2 separate regions of the Homo sapiens genome follow, and region 1 is linked to region 2. The links are contacts of gene promoters, found by promoter capture Hi-C in blood cells and fetal thymus (Javierre and others, 2016). All regions are on one chromosome and are shown on one strand. The core of a region is centred on a gene start or on the middle of the fragment in contact, and the rest is flanking DNA. Distances in the headings are between cores, read along the strand shown.

Region 1 (5,070 bases), core at 881-3,380, 420 kb after region 2:
GAACAAAGATTAAGATGGAAAGGGTCAAATTTCAATAATCTTCTGCCCTTTAAGGTTGATTCCTAGCAAAATCAACCCAGTTTTTTCCAAGCATTCCCCTTTAAGTGCCCAATAGTAATAAATATAGCAAAGCATAAGTATACTTAATATATAAAACAAACCACTCACTAAGACCAACATTAAGTCCACTATGAAAGAACTGTACCTACACAAATAGGTGATGATAAGAATATAAGGGATTTCATTTAAGATCTACTGGTAAAATTATGATTAAGACATAAGAAAGGAGGACTTCTTAATATTACTTATATATTCAAAGAATAATATTTGAACAGAATTGTGTAGAAGGACAGCTGGAAAGGGGAATAGTGGCCCCAAATGGATGTAAACAGCATAGGAGAGAATTTAGTTTCTTTAAATGAGTTCTAGTTTCCTGACCGTGGACAAACTACTTCTCAGATACTGAGACATCTTCCAAGTGAGAACATTGAACACTGAGCTCTTTTTTTTTTTTTTTTTTTTTTTTTTTTTTGAGATAAGTCTCGCTCTGTCACCAGGCTGGAGTGCAGTGGTGCGATCTCGGCTCACTGCAACCTCCACCTCCAAGGTTCAAGCAATTCTCCTGCTTCAGCCTCCTGAGTAGCTGGGATTACAGGTGCCCGCCACCATGCCCATGTTTCACCATGTTGGCCAGGATGGTCTCGATCTCTTGACCTCATGATCTTTGGGAGGCCCACACTGGCCTCCCAAAGTGCTGGGATTACAGGTGTGAGCCACCACACCCAGCCAAGAACATTGAACTCTTATTGGTGATGTTTGAAGAATCGTGGGGAACCTAAAATTTGGGAGACTGGATCTATATTAGCATCAGAGAAAATTTTCATTCAATCTGAACTGATCAAAATAAGGATAGCTCCCTCTCCTTCAGGAAGCATTGAGCATGCCAGCATTTGCAAAATATATACCCGAACTTGAATTGCAAGAGCAGTTTTTTCCTTTTTGGCCCTGAAAATAACTTACAACATCCAAGAAGACTTTAAACAATCTATCTTTTACCTATTGCACAATTTGTTATTATACAATAGGGGGCTTATTGTTATTATTGTTGTTTGTAATGGTATTTCTAGGGCTTTCTATATTTCAAATGACTGACTCTTAATTCTGTTTAGTGCTGAATCACTGTTTTCCTCTTTCGTTTTTCTTTTAACTGGTAAATATTAACTTCCTTCATACAGCTCTGTCCTAAGACAGGTACAGCTAGCTTATTGGTGACAGCCGGACATGCTTGCACTGAATGACCGATGGTTTCCACTCTTCTTCTTTCCTCCTCTTTCCTAGTAGCTCAGTTCAATAAGGTTAAGCCCTTTTCTGATGGTTTGAGATACATTTAAAATGAATTTCTTATATTTATTTTTCTGGTGAAATAATATGTTATCAGGGAAACAATAGGGATTTGGCTTTTAAAAATTCATCATAGTCTTGTTAAAAAAAAAATTATTCAATGGCACTTGTGAAAGCCTGGTAAGGGAGACTTTATTCAGGAACACTGCAGTAAACAAAGGAACCACCATAACAGGGTCTTGCATTGGGAGACAGAGATTGGACTCATCTCCTAACATAGCATGGGCAAGTGAGAATTTACAGCCAAGGAGCAGGGTGGCGGTCAGTGGATGGAAAATTACTAAGAGGAAGCATCACCAGTAGGGAAATTTTGGCTAAACTGACCTAAAAGTGCTCTTGCTGAAGACAGGCGAGGGTGATCAAACATCACTTGGAGAATGGTGGCAGATAAGAGATCTGATCCGCTATTAAGGGTGATCAGATATCGAGGATGGGGAGTTCTTGCTAAACCTATTTAGCAGGGCTCTTTGCTAAAATTTTACAAAACTGGATTTTACAAGGAAGTGCACCCATGGGCCTATGAGAAGGTTCAGAAGCTTGACTAAACTATGGACAAGGAAAAAAATCTTCATTGGTCCTTACTGCCTTTTTAAAGAAACATTGGACTTCATGGCCACTAGTGAGGGTTTGGATTTAACTAATGAGTATCACTAGAAATTGGACATGCATGAGATTCACCATCCCTGTCCACCACCTCTGCTGATTGTCTTAATAACTGGTTAATTTTGCCACCTCTAAAATATCTTTCCTGCACATTTCTTCATTGTATTTATAATTTGAATTATCTTCTTTGCAACTAAGGCATTTCCCAATTTATCACCTAGTAATCTATACTCATCTTGCATATCCTTTCGTGACCTAGATTATGTGTGCAGTATATCCTTCATAAGCTCTTAAATTTAAAGGATATTTTATATTTTACAAAGCTTTTTCCCATTTTGGCCTGGCACAGTGGCTCACACCTGTAATCCCAGCACTTTGAAAGGCCAAGGCAGGAGGATCATTTGAGGTCAGGAGTTCGAGACCAGCCTGGCCAACATGGCAAAACCCGTCTCTACTAAAAATACAAAATTAACCAGGCTTGGCAGTGTGCACCTGTATTCCCAGCTACTCGGGAGGCTTAGGCACGAAAATCACTTGAACCTGGGAGGCAGAGTTTGCAGTGAGCTGAGATCGCGCCACTGCACTCCAGCCTGGGTGAAAGAGCAAGACTTTGTCTCAAAAATTAATTAATTAATTAATATTTTTAAAAAAACAAAGTTCTTTCACATCTATTCCCATGCCACTAAGTCAAGAGACTAATTTTTAAGACTTCGGGAAAGATCTATGGATCCCATCCATGCTGACTTAGAGCATAAGCAAATAGTTCATTTAAACAGCAACCCTTTAACCAGGCACAGTGGCTCACACCTGTAATCCTAGCACTTTGGGAGGCCAAGGTGGGTGGATCACTTGAGGTCAGGAGTTCAAAACCAGCCTGACAAATGTGGTGAAACCCCGTCTCTATTAAAAATGCAAAAAATTAGTGGGGTGTGGTGACACGCACCTGCAATCTCAGCTACTCGGCAGGCTGAGGCAGGAGAATCGCTTGAACCCAGGAGGCGGAGGTTGCAGTGAGCCAACATCAAGCCACTGCACTCTAGACTGTGCGACAGAGCAAGACTGTGTCTAAAAAGAGCAATCCTTGGATTTTGTTTGCAACAGCTCTAGACTATTTATCAGGAAATCACTACCATCAAATATTTTTCCAGTTCCAGCTAGGTTCAGGTGTTGCCAAGAAGTTTCTGATGAAGTGGGCTACAGGAGGGAACTTACTTCTAGATGTTATAGAACTATTGTTGTAAGATGAATTTATTTAGGTGGGCAAACTGATGAGACCAACATGAGTAACACCAAATGCCGTACACCACGCAGATGGGCAAGTTTCATGTTATACTGGGGACTCATGGGCTCATTACACCCATCTTTTGGGCCATTTTTATGTCTCAAATATCAGTTTTTATTCTGTTGTCTTAACTTATAGCCACTGAGATAACTCCCTACTGATATTTAGTTTCCAAGTTGACCTTTACAAGGCTGCCTTAACTTTGCCCCTTAACATCCTTTATCAAAGCCCATTACACGAATCCCACATTTGAGATTTCCAAAATAAGACAATCATGCATAGCTTTTCCTCAGGAATGGAACTTCTCAGGACAAGTCTGACGTGTACCCTAGTTATTAAATAGATAGGGAAACAATCAGAAAAATGACAGGGGAAATTTCATTCTAATAGACACTGGGAGAAAAGATGGCTTATGTTGACTTAATTCTTTTTAAAATACTTTACTGTGTGTGATTAGTATCCTAAGGCCTTTTAAAATACTTTTCAGTATACTATAAAGATGCCAGAGGGAGTTATAAGGAGCTATGGGCTGGGATTTGATTGAAAAAGTCCAAGTAGGTCAGGCGTGGTGGCTTGTGCCTGTAATCCCAGCACTTTGGGAGGGCAAGGCAGGCAGATCACTTGAGGTCAGGAGTTCAAAACCAGCCTGGCCAACGTGGTGAAACCCCATCTCTACTTAAAAAAATAAAAAATAAAGGCCAAGTAGAGAATACGAGTTTGAGCCATATGAAGTTTCCATTTTTGTAGATCAAAAATAACTGCATAGCTACAACTTCAAAGGTTTAGCCTTAGGAAGAAAGATTCGTGAACAAGTCATTAAACAGGGATGGTAGGAGTCCATGAGAAGAATGAAAGAAGCTCCAGATGCTTTTTGGTTGGAAAAAAACAAAAACAAAAACAAAAACAAAACAGCAGAAAACATGGTGAAAATGTGTTTTTTAATGAAATGGTTGTAAACAAAGTGAGTATGCCATTAAACAGGAAAAGGCCTATTGCTTTGTACTGATAATCTTGTACTGTGCTTGCGATATAGAAATCAACGCTCCTCTTATTTCTCTTTAGTCTTTTTTTTTTTTTTAATAGACAGAGTTTCGCTCCTGTTGCCCAGGCTGGAGTGCAATGGTGCGATCTCGGCTCACCGCAACCTCCACCTCCTGGGTTCAAGCAATTCTCCTGCCTCAGCCTCCCAAGTAGCTGGGATTACAGGTGCCCACCATGCCCGGTTTCTTTCTTTCTTTCTTTTCTTTCTTTTCTTTCTTTCTTTCTTTCTTCCTTTCTTTCCTTCTTTCTTTCTTTCATCTTTAGTAGAGACAGGGTTTCACCACATGGGCCAGGCTGGTCTTGAACTCCTGACCTTAGATGATCCACCCGCCTCAGCCTCCCAAAATGCTGGAATTACAAGCATGAGCCACTGTGCCCAGCCTTTTCTTCAGTCTTTCTAATGAGAATAGTAACCAACCATCTGTAAAGAGAAAGAGAAAACCAAGATTAGGGCATAATAAGCAGTAACCAGTAGTTTGTCCCTGGGGAGGGGGATGTGGATGGGGTGTTTGGAAACTAGGACTTCCCATTTTTTTTCCTACATTGTTTTCCCCCTCAAGCACAGGTTACTTTTATAACAAAAGAAAAATTGAAATGTTTCCTTCTGAACTGAAATGAGAAAACTTGCAACAAGAGCGACAGATTTTAATTCCTTTTGATCTGAATAAAGAGAGCTATAAGCACTAAAAGAAGTTTAATATGAAGTAAGCTCCTCAGTGTGATGTTGCATTTTTTGTATGATG
Region 2 (5,478 bases), core at 357-2,856:
CAGGAGTTTGAGACCAGCCTGGCCAAGATAGTGAAACCCCGTCTCTACTAAAAATACAATAATTAGCTGGGCACGGTGGCAGCCGCCTGTAATCCCAGCTACTCGGGAGGCTGAGGCAGGAGAATCACTTGAACCTGGGAGGCAGGGGTTGCAGTGAGCCGAGATCGCGTCACTGCACTCCAGCCTGGGTGACAGAGCGAGACTCCATCTCAAAAACAAAAAACAAAAAACAAAAAAAGAAAATTGAGGTTTAGGACACTGGTAGGATTATGGTGTCAGTCACATCATGAGTTGAGTCAATAGCACACTACAAATATCGTGATCCATAGCCCTGGGTTTAAGTAACTTATAATTTAAGGACATTTAATCTGAATTGCATTAGATTCTAATTACTTTCTAGAACACCCTATGTGAATTTACCAAAACAGTAAATATATGGAGTATGTGAACTTCAGAAGATTTTATATCAATGAAGGCAGGACAGTAGGACAGAAGACATGGTGGGACACGCCCATGATCTTCAGTTTATTCGACTCACTTCATCCTGAAGTCCTCAGCAGCTAGTCTCGCATTGTCAATCTGCAAGAGGAGCTGGGCATTTCCAATGCTGGCTGAAATGATCTGGCAAAAGAGAGGGACACACACAAGATTGAAGCCCTAAAAGACTAGTATTATACAAATATATTTTTGACACAAAGGTGAAAATGGTGATATTAAATGCTGTTTTATTTAGAGTTTAAGACAGTTTCATTTTTCTAAGACAATATCTGTATAAAATAATATTGAGAAGTAAAGAAATGCAGATTTCCTACAGAAAGATAATGGAAATACAATCATTTCTTAGTAAATGATAAAGTGGAGTGAAACAACCTGGGATGAGAAAATTGCTGCAAGTACAGCTAAATTGGAAAATATCAAAGTTGTAGGTGATTATCACTGTAAAACATTGTAATGGTAAAAAGGAAAAAAAAAATTCCCAAAGCGCCTCCAAAAGAGATCTTACCTTATTCCTGAGGTCTTCAATCAGTGGATAATATTTGCTGTAATCGCTCTGTGAAGCATCTGCAGTCCCAGTTCCTCGTGTTTCATACCATTCTCGAATTTTATTTTCTAGCTCAGTATTAGCCTCTTCTAGAGCTCGCACCTTATCCAGGTAGGAAGCTAATCTATCATTAAGATTTTGCATAGTTTCTTTTTCTGATCCAGAAAGAAGGCCTCCATCATTGCCCGAGAGAATACCTAGAGAGCCACCTCCTGGGCTGCCCCCAAATCCCATCCCCAGCCCTCCAAAGCTACCTCCACCCAGGGCTCTCCCATAACCAGCACCCAGTCCTCCTGCCATGGAACTTCCGGAGCCACCCCCAAAGCCGGAACTAGAACCAAACATGGAAGCAGCAGAAAAGCCTCCCCCACAGCTGGCTCCAAAGCCAAAGGCACTTCCCCCATAACCACTTCCAACACTGGAAGCAGACATGCCCCTGGGTCTGCCTATCACACTCTGCGAGGAGAGCCGCCGGGACAGTCCGGGGGTGCGCACTGAGAGTGACATGGTGTTGTTGGAGAGATCCATGGCCTGGGGAAGGTGGCCACAACTGGAGAGGAAGTTGTGCCAGCAAGCCAGAAAGCTAAACTTATATAGGCTGCAAGATGGGTGTCGCAGTTGAAAAGTTCACTTTCTCCACTCAAAATTGGATCCTCCCCCCAGGTTTTTGGCCAGCTCAACAAGTGAATGATTTATGTATAATGAAAATTCATTGATACAGAAATAATCGAATAATCATTTCCATTAAATATTTGTTATATGAAAAAGAAAGCTGGGTGGAGTAGAGTCTGCTTGTCATAAGGAATTTTTCTTCTCCAAATTAGTCTGTTGCCTGTATTCCCAGCACTGCCTAGCGTCTTGTTCACAGTAGGAAGATAATGAGCGATTGCTGAATGGATACGTTAAATACTTCTTCCTAAACCTTATGCTTTTTTAAGTTCTTCCCTGATCTTTTCTGTTTGTTTCCTTTGGAAAATCCAGTGTAAACCATTTGTTTCCTTTGGAAAAACCAATCCAATGTAAAATCCAGTCATGATCAAGTATACCTTTTAGTGGAATACAGCTTCAGAAGCAGCTGTGAAATGCACTGGTGAAAGGTGGAGAATAAATATATTTTCCAGATGGATACTAGAATTTGCATTTTCAAGGATTTTAAAACCTTGGCTTTAGGATGTTGCATGTTTCTTTTCCCTCTTATTCTTCAACTTGGAAAAGTACTATTTTTGAGTACAGTTGTTTATAGTAGAGTTTATTATAGTTGTTTTAGCAGTTTTACCTTGTCTGATTGCTCACTGCTCTACACTCAGCATTTACTATGTTTATTCCTTCAACAGATATTGCCTGTAATGGTTGCTCAATAAATGTGTTGACTAGTTGAATGGATTGTGTAAACACTTCAGATTTTGTTGCCATTATCAATAAGGAGAAAGTGGAAACACAGTTCAAATTAAGAAATGATTAAAACCCCAAGTTTAAGAGGCTAGTGAACCATTTCAGTTGACTGCTATGATGAAAAAGGATAAATTTTACAATATAGAATAAATTAAATGTTATATTTTAAACTTTGTTGTGAAAACTTTGCAAAGCGTGCTTCAAGGAATTATATCCAGTATCTTTAATTTTTAAGACATAAAGTTCTTATACTTTCTTGTTTGGTATATTATTTATCTTTGAAATTGATATGGCTTATATATTGAACATGAGAACTAACGTTCTTACAGGAAATGCATTAACTTGAAAGAAGCCTGCTTTCAGAGAGAGTTGTAGATACCTGGAAACCGAGTAGTACAATTCCAGGGTGGTGGAATTCCCTTAGGAATTTAAATTGTGAGCATTTTGATTGGATAAGAAGGAATAAGGATTTTTCTTTTACATGTTTTCTTTGAGATGATGGCCCAATTCTCTACATGTCTCATTGCAAAATAGTTCTATAGTTTTTTTTTAAATATAGCTCTCTATGTATTTATAGTAGGAAATTTAGAAGATGCAGAAAACATAAAGAAGATGTATGTATATATGAGTATTTTATATACATTTTTGAACATAATTGATTCAATATAAGATTTTATAATCTGCTTTTCTCTTAAGATTATATACTTATCTATCACTTGAACTTTAATAATTGGGTACAGAACATGGATTGTGGATTCTTCGAAATCCTTTGTTGGATTCAGATTTCTAAATTCAGTTTGCTCTGTATTTGATGATAGGAAATAAAATTTCTGGGTGTAAATAACAGTTTTTTTGCAAAGATGTTTATACTGAATTTTATTAATAAGGTATACACTGACTGTGTGTGCTATAGACATATATGTATTTTGACTAGAATGGATTTATTGAAATAAAATACATTAAAATCATTGTAATGATACATTTCCTACCTCGTGGGAAACAGGGCCTTCATTTCTCCATCAGGGACCTCTGTTTGCTTATAGATGGCCACTAAAACTCCTTTTCAATTTGGTATATTTGGATTCTGCGTTTTATTTTATTCTAAGGAAAAGTTTTAAAAATATCACAAGTATTCTAGATTTCTAAAATAAAATTGAATTCTTATTTGATTTAATAATACATACCTTTCATAAAAAGGAAGATTTTTATTTTTATTTATTTACCACTACTGGATTTTTTTTAAAAAATTTCAACTTTAATTTTAGATTCAGGAGGTACATGTGCAGGTTTGTTACGTGTGTATATTTCATGATGCTGAGGTTTGGGGTACGACTCATCTCATCACCCAGGTAGTAAGCATAGTACCCAATAGTTGTTTAACCTTTGCTCCCCACAGTAATTCCCAGTGTCTATTGTTGGCATTCTATATGTCCATGAGTGCCCAATGTTTAATTCCCAAAAAGGAGGCTTTCTATACATTTTAAAGTGGAGATTGAATCTATCTGGTAAAGATTAATTTCTCAGCAAAATTATTGGATACCTGTGAGATCATTGAGATGTTACTTACTTAATACAAACAATCAACCATAAAAATTAGCAAATATGTGGCTATTGTTTAAGGTTTTTCCATAAGCATATGCAATACTTTTTGTTTCTCTTACTAAAACAATAACCTGATTTTTTTGGACACTTCAATAGCAGAGATAATATGTGAAGTAAGCCTGTAACTGTTACACAACTTGAATTATGTCAAAATGATGTGGTCTTTTTGAAAATTAAATCAAGAATTTCAACCAAGCCAACATGAAAGTATTCAAGTACTAGGTCTGCTGTTACCTCCATTCTTCAATGTCTAGTCCATTTGCCCAGTGTCTTGGACAAAGTCAGCATTCAATATATGCTTATTGATTTCTCTCTTGATAAATCAAGCTGCTGGGCCATTAATGTGTGTTATGTATGAGGAAATTTTTCCAAAATCAAAAAAGAGTGTATCAATATAAAGGCAAGCTACAAAGTATAATAATTTAAGTATTCGTGGATTCACAATGTAGACACATTCAGATGTTACTCTCATTCTAATGTACACATGCATGCACACACACACACCCAGAAACATGCACTCAGATGTCTTTGCTTGGTGCCAGTGTGCAGGTGCTCCCTGCAGAGGGATCTTCTGCAGCCCCTGCTGCTCCACCTTCCCTGGGAGCCCTTTCTCCTGAGAATGCTTCTTTCGCTGGCCTTTATCTCATTGGAGTTAGTCTCAATGGTTAGCACTTGTTTTGCCTTGTAGAGTACAGACTGACTCCTGAGGAATTCCAGACCTGTAGCCTAGATTCCCCGTAGTTTACTGCTGCCTCCTGTCCACCTGCATATCCAGATATTATCTCCCTGATTACAGCCTCCCCGAAGCTGAGGTTCTTCCATTGTGAAGAGTCCTGAGCCAGAACTAGCAGTGCCCACTGGGGATTAGGGGACAGATGCCGAGGGGTCACACCTGAAGCCCATGGCAAACCTCCATAAGGAATACCTGGGATCAATTCTGGCAAATGGAAGGACTGTTTTGACTTTTTATTAAAAAAAAAAAAAAAAGCCACTTTCCCAGGGACACAAATGATGAACCCGTGGTGAAATCCAATTACAACTTCCTTTTATATTATTACATAAGGGACAAATGTGAAGGGACATATTTCTCCCCAACCTAAACTCGTCACAAAGAGCAAGCAAGTGGGATTTCTAAATAAAGGGGGTTTAAGCAAGAGATTTGCAGAAATCACACATTTGCTATAGATGTGGAAAGAATGTAGCAACCTAAGGCAGTCTCAGCTTGAGAGAAGCCATGATCCATTTGTTTAATTTCTTGAGAGAATGAAAATCTGGTCAGTGGAAATGCCAGTGATTTTAGCCCCATATGGAGGTTTTTACCAAGGATTCCTTAAATCTATATTATAAGCATTTTGACTGAGCTGGTCTTGTTTGAATTATCAGTTATTATGTACTTACTACTTTTTGGACACTGGGCCAGCTGAATTACAGACATTATTTTT

What was found. Contacts are between HindIII fragments. The CHiCAGO score rates a contact against its expected background, and 5 or more counts as called.
Region 1: a contact is called between a fragment that was not itself captured here and the fragment with the promoter of KRT12 in region 2, in 2 of 17 cell types (endothelial precursors and M0 macrophages). The highest score is 6.4, in endothelial precursors.

What each region holds. Positions count from the first base shown.
Region 1 is chr17:41,286,046-41,291,115 of GRCh38, forward strand. No RefSeq gene overlaps it. Among named protein-coding and RNA genes, the nearest start is that of KRTAP9-7, 13 kb to the left of the region's middle. The HindIII fragment of the contact is 390 bases long and covers 1,936-2,325 here.
Region 2 is chr17:40,865,617-40,871,094 of GRCh38, forward strand. KRT12 (keratin 12) reads right to left here and starts at 1,607. Exons shown (of 8, transcript NM_000223.4): 1 at 1,004-1,607; 2 at 539-621. The coding sequence starts at 1,570. The region is part of intron 1 of LOC105371777 (a long non-coding RNA gene); the gene reads left to right. The HindIII fragment of the contact is 7,860 bases long and covers 1-5,478 here.